Regions from separate parts of the Homo sapiens genome. Here all the other regions are linked to region 1. The links are contacts of gene promoters, found by promoter capture Hi-C in blood cells and fetal thymus (Javierre and others, 2016). All regions are on one chromosome and are shown on one strand. The core of a region is centred on a gene start or on the middle of the fragment in contact, and the rest is flanking DNA. Distances in the headings are between cores, read along the strand shown. Region 1 holds the start of SERINC5 (serine incorporator 5). Region 2 overlaps MSH3 (mutS homolog 3). Region 3 overlaps LINC01337 (long intergenic non-protein coding RNA 1337).

The links. Contacts are between HindIII fragments. The CHiCAGO score rates a contact against its expected background, and 5 or more counts as called.
Region 2: a contact is called between a fragment that was not itself captured here and the fragment with the promoter of SERINC5 in region 1, in 1 of 17 cell types (neutrophils). The highest score is 8.5, in neutrophils.
Region 3: a fragment that was not itself captured here is called in contact with the fragment with the promoter of SERINC5 in region 1 in 1 of 17 cell types (neutrophils); the score reaches 5.5 in neutrophils.

The regions. Positions count from the first base shown.
Region 1 is chr5:80,254,499-80,257,590 of GRCh38, reverse strand. It overlaps SERINC5 (serine incorporator 5), which reads left to right and starts at 1,543. Exons shown (of 12, transcript NM_001174072.3): 1 at 1,543-1,695. The coding sequence starts at 1,669. RefSeq lists enhancers at 1-443, 444-1,377 and silencers at 1,231-1,670, 1,781-2,060. The HindIII fragment of the contact is 9,277 bases long and covers 1,017-3,092 here.
Region 2 is chr5:80,677,685-80,680,776 of GRCh38, reverse strand. MSH3 (mutS homolog 3) reads right to left here. Exons shown (of 24, transcript NM_002439.5): 8 at 1,684-1,850. Among named protein-coding and RNA genes, the nearest start is that of DHFR, 24 kb to the right of the region's middle. The HindIII fragment of the contact is 5,096 bases long and covers 1-3,092 here.
Region 3 is chr5:80,613,767-80,616,858 of GRCh38, reverse strand. The region is part of intron 1 of LINC01337 (long intergenic non-protein coding RNA 1337); the gene reads left to right. Among named protein-coding and RNA genes, the nearest start is that of LINC01337, 7.2 kb to the left of the region's middle. The HindIII fragment of the contact is 2,249 bases long and covers 718-2,966 here.

The DNA of each region.
Region 1 (3,092 bases), core at 294-2,793:
GCGCTTGACTGATTGGGTTTACCCTATTTTTGTTTTGAGTTAGAGCCAACTGTCCTCATTCCTTTTCGTGGCTCTGAGTAGGGCCTGCTCCATTATATCTCTTTCTCTAAACGCCTGCATCTGAGATGCTGGAAAATCCTGCGCAGCTCATAACCCAAGGCCTGGTTTCCATTCACCTTTCCTCTTCTACTCCTAAGCTGCCCAAGACACTCCTTTGCCAGAGCTCTGTCTGGAAACGAGTCCCTCTAAGGTCAAGCCTTGCGTCATGTGCCAGGGGATCAGACGAGTGGATTCCAGGCCCAGTTTTACTTCCTCAACTTTGCTGTGAGGCTTTGGGCAAGTTATTTAACCTCTCTGGGCTTCAGTTGCCTCACCGCTAAAATGGGTACGGTAATGCTTATTTGAAAGAGCAAAGGGATTGGCGCAAAAATCGCACTAACAGAAATATCTTCATTCCGGCAGGGCGCGGTGGCTCACGCCTGTAATCCCAGCACTTTGGGAGGCCGAGGCGGGCGGATCACCTGAGGTCAGGAGTTCGAGACCAGCCTGGCCAAGATGGTGAAACCCCGTCTCTACTAAAAATACAAAAAATTAGCCGGGCGTGGTGGCAGGCGCCTGTAATCCCAGCTACTCGGGAGGCAGAGGTTGCAGTGAGCCGAGATCGCGTCACTGCACTCCAGCCTGGGCGACAGAGTGAAGCTCCGTCTCAGAGAAAAAAAAGAAAAAAAAAAAAGAAATACCTTCATTCCTCTTGGGGAGGTGGCTGTGAGGACAGCAGATCTGAGTGGGAGAAAACCTAGAGACGGCCTCCCTGCCTTCTGTATGGAACAAGCAATTATTGGGCACCCTCTTTTTAGTGAGGAAGCAGGGACGGAAAATGAGTCCTTGGGCCAGCGCAGGAGGAGAGGCTGGAAAACATATCAATATTCAGGAAGGCACGGAAAGGGCTCTCAATGGATCTCTCACCAAGTGCCATCAGGGCAGAACAGTCAAGGGCCCAGGGATTCGAGGAAGCTTGGGAGGCGCGGAGAGCCCAAAAGTTGAAAGTTTTCTTGGCAGATGAGGGAAGGAAAGGGATTTCAGGAACAAGGATCTCGTGGGTGGGCTGTCCCAGTCGGCGCGCGGCAGAGCGCAGACCAGCACCCGGCGGTCTGGTCTGTGCAGGAAAGGCAGGAACCGCTTACTAAGGCTCCAACCTTTTAGAGGCAGCAACAAGCTCTTTCTCTGGATCCGAAGGCGGAGAGGCGCTGCGCTCTCATTTGGCGAGGGCCCGAGCGCGGCCAGACCGCGCACCAGACCCGGAGCGTGGGGCCCAAAGGCTGGCGGCCGACTCCGGAGCTCGGCGCCCCAACCGGGAAGTGATCGCAGCAGCCCACCCGCCTGACGCCAGCGGAAGTGCGAGCCCGGGTCGAGCCTGCTCCGCCGCCGGGCGCCCGGGAAGGGGCGGGCACGGGGCGGGGCTGGGGGCGGGCGAGGCGGGGCCGGCGGCGGGGCGGGGCTTGGCCGCAGTTGTTTTTACCCAGGCCTCGGCGCCTAGGCGCTTCGCCGAGGCTGATCTTCGTTCAAGTGTGAGCTGCGGCTGAGCCCAGCGCTCGAGGCGCGAGGCAGCCAGGAGGGCCCGTGCGGCGCGGGGAGCCAGCGAGCGCGCCTTCGGCATTGGCCGCCGCGATGTCAGCTCAGTGCTGTGCGGGCCAGGTGAGCGAGGCCGGGCGCAGCGCGGGGGTTGTCAGATCGGAGAACCGGGCCAGGAGTCCAGGCGTGGAGGACCTGCCTGGGTGCGCTCCCAGCTCCGCGGCCGAACGTAGGGCCCGGGTGGGTCGCTCGGGCTGGCCCCGCGGCGCTCAGCCGTCCGGGAAATCCTGTGCCCTGGGCGGGCGGGAAGGGGCAGGGGGAAGCCCGAGAGGCTACCCCGGGGTCTTCCCGTCCGGCCTCCGGGACTCCGCGTGGAGCGGGGCGTGCCGGGCTCGGGCGGAGGATCCCGACTGCTCCAGGGGCGTGTCGCCTCTTGCGCCGAGCACTGGTGAATAGCGCTGAGCTCCGTAGCCCTCTCCACTCTGCTTGTCGGATGAATCCAGGAAGAAAAGTGGGTTTAGGCACCGTCTCCTTTGCTATGCCCTGAATAAAACTCGGGTCAAACAACCCAGGCAGGTTGCGCTTGGCATCTCGTAGTCGAGCGTGGGCTCTGTACCTTTGAGAATGTCTCGAAGCCTGACTTCCAAACTACCGGGCGCAGGTCTGGGCGAAGGGAAAACTCAGCCCTGCTTCCTGAATTTCCCGACCCAACCCTGGCTCGGTACTAGCACGACTGCCTGGGTAGGGCTGGAACCTTCCTGCCTCTCTTTGCAAATAAACTTGTTCGAACCTGTTTTTTAACTCTCGCCTATTTAAACCTATGATGTCTTAAAACATTATGTCTCCTACCAGTTACTGCATCAGTGTAGAATTAGTACGTCTTAGCCCTGTAATGCTGGTTTCACTCCTTCCTGCAGAGTTAGAAAAAACGAAGTAGGTGAGTCTCTTGGATGTGGAGCTCTTTTCTCCCTTTACATGTGGATTATCAGCGTTTCGGTACAGAGTTTTAATGGAGTGTTTTCACGAACGAATCAGACTCTAGGGAGCATCCTGGTTCGGGGTGTTCTTGCTGACACTCAGCCTTTCCACAATCGAGGCCAGCTGTAAGTGATGGAGTGGTTAAACTGTGGGTTTCTGTAACCGGCGATTATACTGGCAGATAATCTGTCCTGTTTAGAGTGGCCACGTGGAGCTGTCTTGGTTTTTGAGGTCTAATACTGTGCTTGGCATACATTAAAGCTGGCCTTTTCAGAGTTGAGGAAATTGAGGCTTTTGACGACTGAGACGAAATGATTTTTTTTCCCTGTGTCAGGCAGAGAGAGAAAGAGAATGAGAATGGTCACCACCTTACCAGGTATTTGAGAACAAGGTGGACCAGGAAAGACTGTTTTCAGAAAGCTCTGCAAATCTTTTATTCCCGTTTTGAAATACTTTTTCTCCAATATGATGCGACACTTTTTATTACGTAGTAATGATACAGCTCTTTAGGGGCATCTGTCCTGGTCCCTTGAAGTCCCCTT
Region 2 (3,092 bases), core at 203-2,702, 420 kb before region 1:
GGATTTGCTTCAAAGCCAATAATCAAGGGAGAGAGAAAAGGGGAGGGAGTGTAGAAAAATGAGAATGGTCCTGAGAAATGCTGAAGCTGGCTAATAGAGTGACAGGAGTTCATGACACTATTCTGTATAATTTTGTGTATGTTTGAAATGTTCTGCAATAAAGTTTTTAAAAATGGGGAATTGTAAAGTTAAAAAAAAAAAAACCACAGAATAGAAAAGTGATTTTGCAGCAGGAATGCAAGTTCACAAATGGAAAAAAGTGATATACACACACGGAAATAATGTGCCAAAATGTTTAACAGTCATTTTCTCTGGGTTACAGAATTCAACTTATGAATTTATCCTTTTTTTTTTGTCTTCTGAATGAACATATATTAGTTTTATAATCAGAAAAACAAATTATGAAAGCTACTTCGAAAGAAATTAAATTCAAATGAAAATGAACACAACACTAAGGACAAAGAAACATATGGAACTTCACTTAATCAATCAGTTTGATTTTCTTTTTTTTTTTTTGAGATAAGAGTCTTGCTCTTTCGCCCAGGCTGGAGTGAAGTGGTGTGATCTTGGCTCATTGCAACCTCTGCTTCCCAAGTTCAAGCGATTATCCTGCCTCAGCCTCCGGGGTAGCTGGGAATACAGGTGTCTGCCACCACACCCAGCTAATTTTTGTATTTTTTTTTTTTAGTAGAAACGGGGTTTTGGCCAAGCTGTCTTGAACTGCTGACCTCAGGTGATCCACCCGCCTCAGCCTCCCAAAGTGCTAGGATTACAGGCGTGAGCCACCGTGCCTGGCCTCGATTTTCTAAATGATTTGTCTACCTACTACATGAAAATCCTCATGGGCTTCTCTGCCTAGTCCAAAGTCCAAATTCGTCAATATACAGTCTACTTCGCTGAAGCCCCAGCACACCTTTCTGGTCTCTTTCCCACCACACTCCAGGTGGCAGTACGGAGTCTTTCCAACAAGGCACCTTCACGTTTAGCACTTAATACATCATGCCTTTAAGTCCAGTTAGGTATGCACACATCTGACTCTCATGTGAGGTTGTAAACTCTGCCAGACATATATCATAACCACATCTTCTTCCTCTGTACGCACAGCGCCTAGCACACTGCTTCATACGTAAGTGGTCTGATCTTAGATCCAGTAAACAAAACCACTGGACACAGCCATGAATTGAAACTTGCAGCACAGACAAAGCATCTCCAAAGTTACATAAACTTTGTAAGAAGTGAACTCTAAATTATCTCTAGAAACTGAAGATTACCAATAATTAAATATCATAAACCCCATAATTATCAAATAATATCATTAAATATCAGAAACCTCTTCAAAAAGACTGCCTTCTAAAGTTCTACATTAAGGTGATAGTAGGGGTAGGTGGTGTTTCTTCTATTTGTTTTTTAGATATGAGATCTCACCTTAGTTGCCCAGGCTGGTCTCAGATTCCGGGGCTCAAGCAATCCTTCCTCCTCAGCCTCCCAAGTGGCTGAGATTACATGCATGTGCCACCATGCCCAGCTTTGTTGTTTTACTTTTTTTTTTAAATTTCCACTACTACAGTGGAAATATAATTTTTGTAAGTAAAAACTATTTTTAGCAACTTTAATAAGTATCAGTTTTGGAACTAAACCTAAGTTTCAGAATCGGTATTATATTCCAGTGATGTGCCAACTTACCTAACAGATGTGGCTCTGTGGATGAGCGCCTCTGTTTGCTCGGACAAGGCCGAAGGAAGCAGCAGCTCTACTGGCTGCAGGCTTGACATCCGGGTTTCTAGCTCTGAACGAGAAGCAGAGTCCTGGAAACTATCAAACACAACCTCGCCTGTGGCAGGCTGCACTCCCTAAAAACAAATACAAATATAATGTTACAGAAAAAATGTATTTCCCCAGTTATGGCTATAACACAGCATAAACATGGAAAAAGTAAAGATGATACACTCAGGAGTATGTATGTACTCTATTTCTAAAGTGTTAGAAACCTGTCTGCTTTTCAGGACTCTTACACGAAGAGTCAGACTCACAGATATCTAAATGATACTATAAATCAGATTTCCGAGAGCCGCCCTGAATACAAGGCCTGGAGTTAATATACCTAACGGAGTGACTATGGCAAGTTACCAAACACTGCCAGGCCTCAGTTTCTTCCTCTGTAAATGGAACCAAACCAGCCTACTTCTCTCATAAGGTTATTGTAAGGATCAAATTATAAAATAAACAGGAATTATTTGTAAACTATAAAGCACTGTACAAATAGTAGTTATCACTCAAAGTAACAAGTGACATGGTCCTAGTAACCAGACCACCAGTACTGTAGTAAATTACTACTTCATACATCAAAGTAACACATAAAATGTATACTTTATCAAACTCTGAATGAAGCCCAAGTAGACAGTCTATCCAGTAGAATAATCATGCCAACTTGAACCTGCTCCCTAACATCCTAAGCCAATAATAGCAAAGATAAACTGGAAAAGATCATGGTTTGGAGAAGTGATAGGAAGTTTCTAGCCAAGGTCCCAGAGTGACAATGGAGTAGAGTCAAGATTCAAACCCAGGAAATCTGACTACTCCCCAATCCACACTGTTAGCCACTACGGATGCTTATGAAAGCCATGGGGGCTAGTTACAGGCTGCATTAGCTAAAAAGAGGAAAAATCACCAATCCCTATGTTCATATACTACTGATGGAAAGCCACTTCTGACAACAGCAAGGCATTATCTAGGAATGTTGAAGTATCCACACCCTATAATTCAGCAATTCCTCCCCCAAGGATATACTCTGGAGAAACTCAGGCATTTGTATACGATACAAGACATACAAAAATATTTACAGCAGCATTCTCTGTACAACTGTAAACTAGAAAGAATGCACATGTCCATCAACAGGAATGAATAAACTGTAGATCATAAAATGAAATAGGAAAAGGCAATGAGAGAACTACAGCGACACATGTAAATAAATCTCACATACAAAATGGTAAACAAAAGGAGCAAAACCCAAAAGAATACACACACTATATTTACATTTGTATATAACGTTTAAGGTGGCAAGGCTGGAACTAGAAGCTCCAACTAAAAGCAAG
Region 3 (3,092 bases), core at 593-3,092, 360 kb before region 1:
TCTAGGAAAGGTCCTGCCCTGTACCCTGGAGGAATGAGTGCTGCAGAGGGGCCAAGAAGAATCTGCACAGACGAATCTTGCTGGGTTGCCCCCTCTCTGGTGCCATTAAGTCACACCCTTTTGTTCAATCACAGTTCTACATGGCCACCCATTCTTCATCGAATCTAAGCATAAAAATAGACAGTTTTTCTGGGGTCTTTCAGTCTTCATTCTGAAGGCTCCTGTGTTGCATAAAACTAGGATTCAATATGTTTGTTATGCTTTTCTCTTGTTAACTTGGCTTTTATTACAGAAATGTCAACCGTGACTCTTATAATGGTTAGGAAAAGGTATCATCCCTTTCCATACCTACACAGGTGTTAACTATATCTACAAAATACTTTCATAGCAACACCTAGATTCATGATTGTTTACATCACTGAGTACTAAAGCCTGGCCAAGTCAGCAGAGAAAACTAACCATCACAGCAATCAAAGTGACAAAATGCAATTGTGCTATATGCCTCCTTGGAGTTATTCCATTTTCACATCAGAAAGTGTCTTGGGAAGAAGGCAACATTCTCTTTAAGTACTGAAGTCACATTTGTTGATCTATCAGTATGCTTAAGAGTTTGTGGTTCAGTCTAAGCAAAATGACAACCACATTCCGCAGGTTGTTGATTTGTGGTTGGGTCTTAATTGTCACCTCCTTCCCCATAGTTCAGTGATTTTTCAAGCTTAGATCAAAAATGAAAAGTGAACTCGAACTTTGAAGATTATCTTCCCTATGCTCCTGAAATTCCAGCTCAAATAGGACATCCCACTCTTGCTTTTTTATCAGTGCTTGCAGGTATTTGCAGCTTTAAAAAGCATCCTTCTGGAACATCAAATCTGAAAATATTCCAACAGCCGGCCTTCAGCTCGGCAAACTTTGAACAATGATGTCCATTGAATGCAGTTTCTCAAAATCTGTTTCTTTTCATAGCCTGTGGCTTGTGAGTGATTTCTGGGAAATGTTGATTATAAGATAAGCTCTTTTCAGTCGGTTTCAAAAGGTGACCCCCAGGGTAGGTAACTGTCAGGCAGAGGCATCTTTTCAGAGAAGCAAGAGGGTGAGCAAACTCCTCTGCCCCCGCTATTGTCGCTATTGTCGCAGCAGCATCATGAAGCTGCCCATTCAATGCATGAAAGGCTGCGCAGGCAGGGGCGTGGGATGGGATTGGGGAGCTTTGGCGTTTTGTATTTTAACTTTTCAGCACAATGTTAGAGCTGGGAGAGGGCAGGACAACAGCCCGCGTTCACAAGACCCAGCCCTCAGATCCGTCCTTGAGTCACTCTGTTAAGTGGAACCGGGTAATTGTCTGTTTGGAGACCTGCAGAAACAGCTCGTGGGAAAGAACTATTTGTACCTGGAATATAGTCATTAGCTTATGTGTCAAAAGGCCACACGTGGATAAAGCCATTATCCTGGCATTCTTTGCACTCTGGCAGCCTTGAGGCTAGCAGTGCAGAAGCCCATATGCAGGCGTGGCTGCTGTCTTCCTCTGTAGCCCCGCGGGCAAGCACTGGCAGGTGGAGGTGGTGGGAGGGCAGCCGAGACTCCCCTGGATTTGGGTAGAGAGAGAGCAGAGAAGGCGGATGCCTTGTACACACAGGCACTGTAATCAGGGCCTCTTTTCAGTTTCTTGAGACCCTCCTACTGGTCTCCATTGAATTGAGAGGGGATTTGGTTTCCCTTGCTGGCTGTCTCTGCCCACTCACATTTACAATTACATGTTTTTCATTGTCATAAAATACATGTAATATGTGCCCTTTTTTCCACGTGGACCGCCATCAAAATCTGCACAAAGACAATGCCCCTTGCCCTGAAATGGTGGAAAGAGCACTGGCCTCAGAGAGAGAAGGCTTGGGTTTCAATTCTGGGTCCCCCTTGGAATGTTCATTAAAATCACTAGTTGCAAGGAACAAACACTAGAATCACCTCATGTGATTGGGCGGGACAGGGTGTTGAGTGTCAAGATACACACACAAACCAAAACCTGAATGTGAAGGCCCCATGGCCCAGGGACCCTGCTGGGAGTCAGTTGGGGTCTCTTTCATGTATATATATTCATATATATACCAATGGATTAATCTACTCATGAATTAATGAATTAATAGATTAGTGGGTTAATAAACTAATGGATGGCTTCATAAGAAGAGGAAAACAGACCTGAGCTAGCATGCTCAGCCCCCTTGCCATGTGATGTTCTGTGCCTCCTCAGGGACTCTGCAGAGAGTCCCCACCAGCAAGAAGGCTCTCACCAGATGAGGCTCCTCAACCTTGGACTCTCAGCCTCCATAACTGTAAGAAATAAATGCCTTTACTTTGTAAACTACACAGTTTTCAGGTATTCTGTTATAAGCAACAGAAAATGGACTGTTTTCTTTGGACATCCATGAATATGGAGAGATGGAGCAAGGCTCTCTGAGGAGGAGGAGCACATGCTTGAAGAATGTGAGCCCCAGAACTGGCAGCCAATGTGAGATGGAGCTGGCCAAGGACTATAGATATGTAAAGGTCAGGGCAACACATGCTTAGACCATAAAGTGTATATATTATACCTGTCAAGGTAATCTATATTTGGGGATGAAAGTGAAGGACAACATCTCACATATTCCTGCTTTTCAGTAAAAAAGGACCTGGGAAAGTCATCATTTTTTCTTATAAACCCAGAATAATTCATAGAGAATGCTAAGAGAAAACACAATTGTTGAGGTTTACACAAGCAAGTACATTTTTTTTTAGAAGTTTCAGTCTCCATAATATATTAAAAGTTGAAAAATAGAGAAGAAAAAAAGCAAAAGCTGATAGAACAAATGAGCAAATGATATGAAGGTCACAAAATAGCCCTTAAACAGAAATGGCTCTTAAGCATATGAAAGGCTGCTTAACATCACTAAAATTAAATAAATGTCAATTAGAACTGCACCATAAAACTCAAAGCTTAACATCATTCTCAGGTATAACCCCTGTGAAGGGAAATTTGGCAAAATGAAGCACACAGCACTACTTATGTAGTCTTTTTGCCAAAAAGTTTAATCTGAGTTAAGCCTCTGAACTCAAATTTCAAT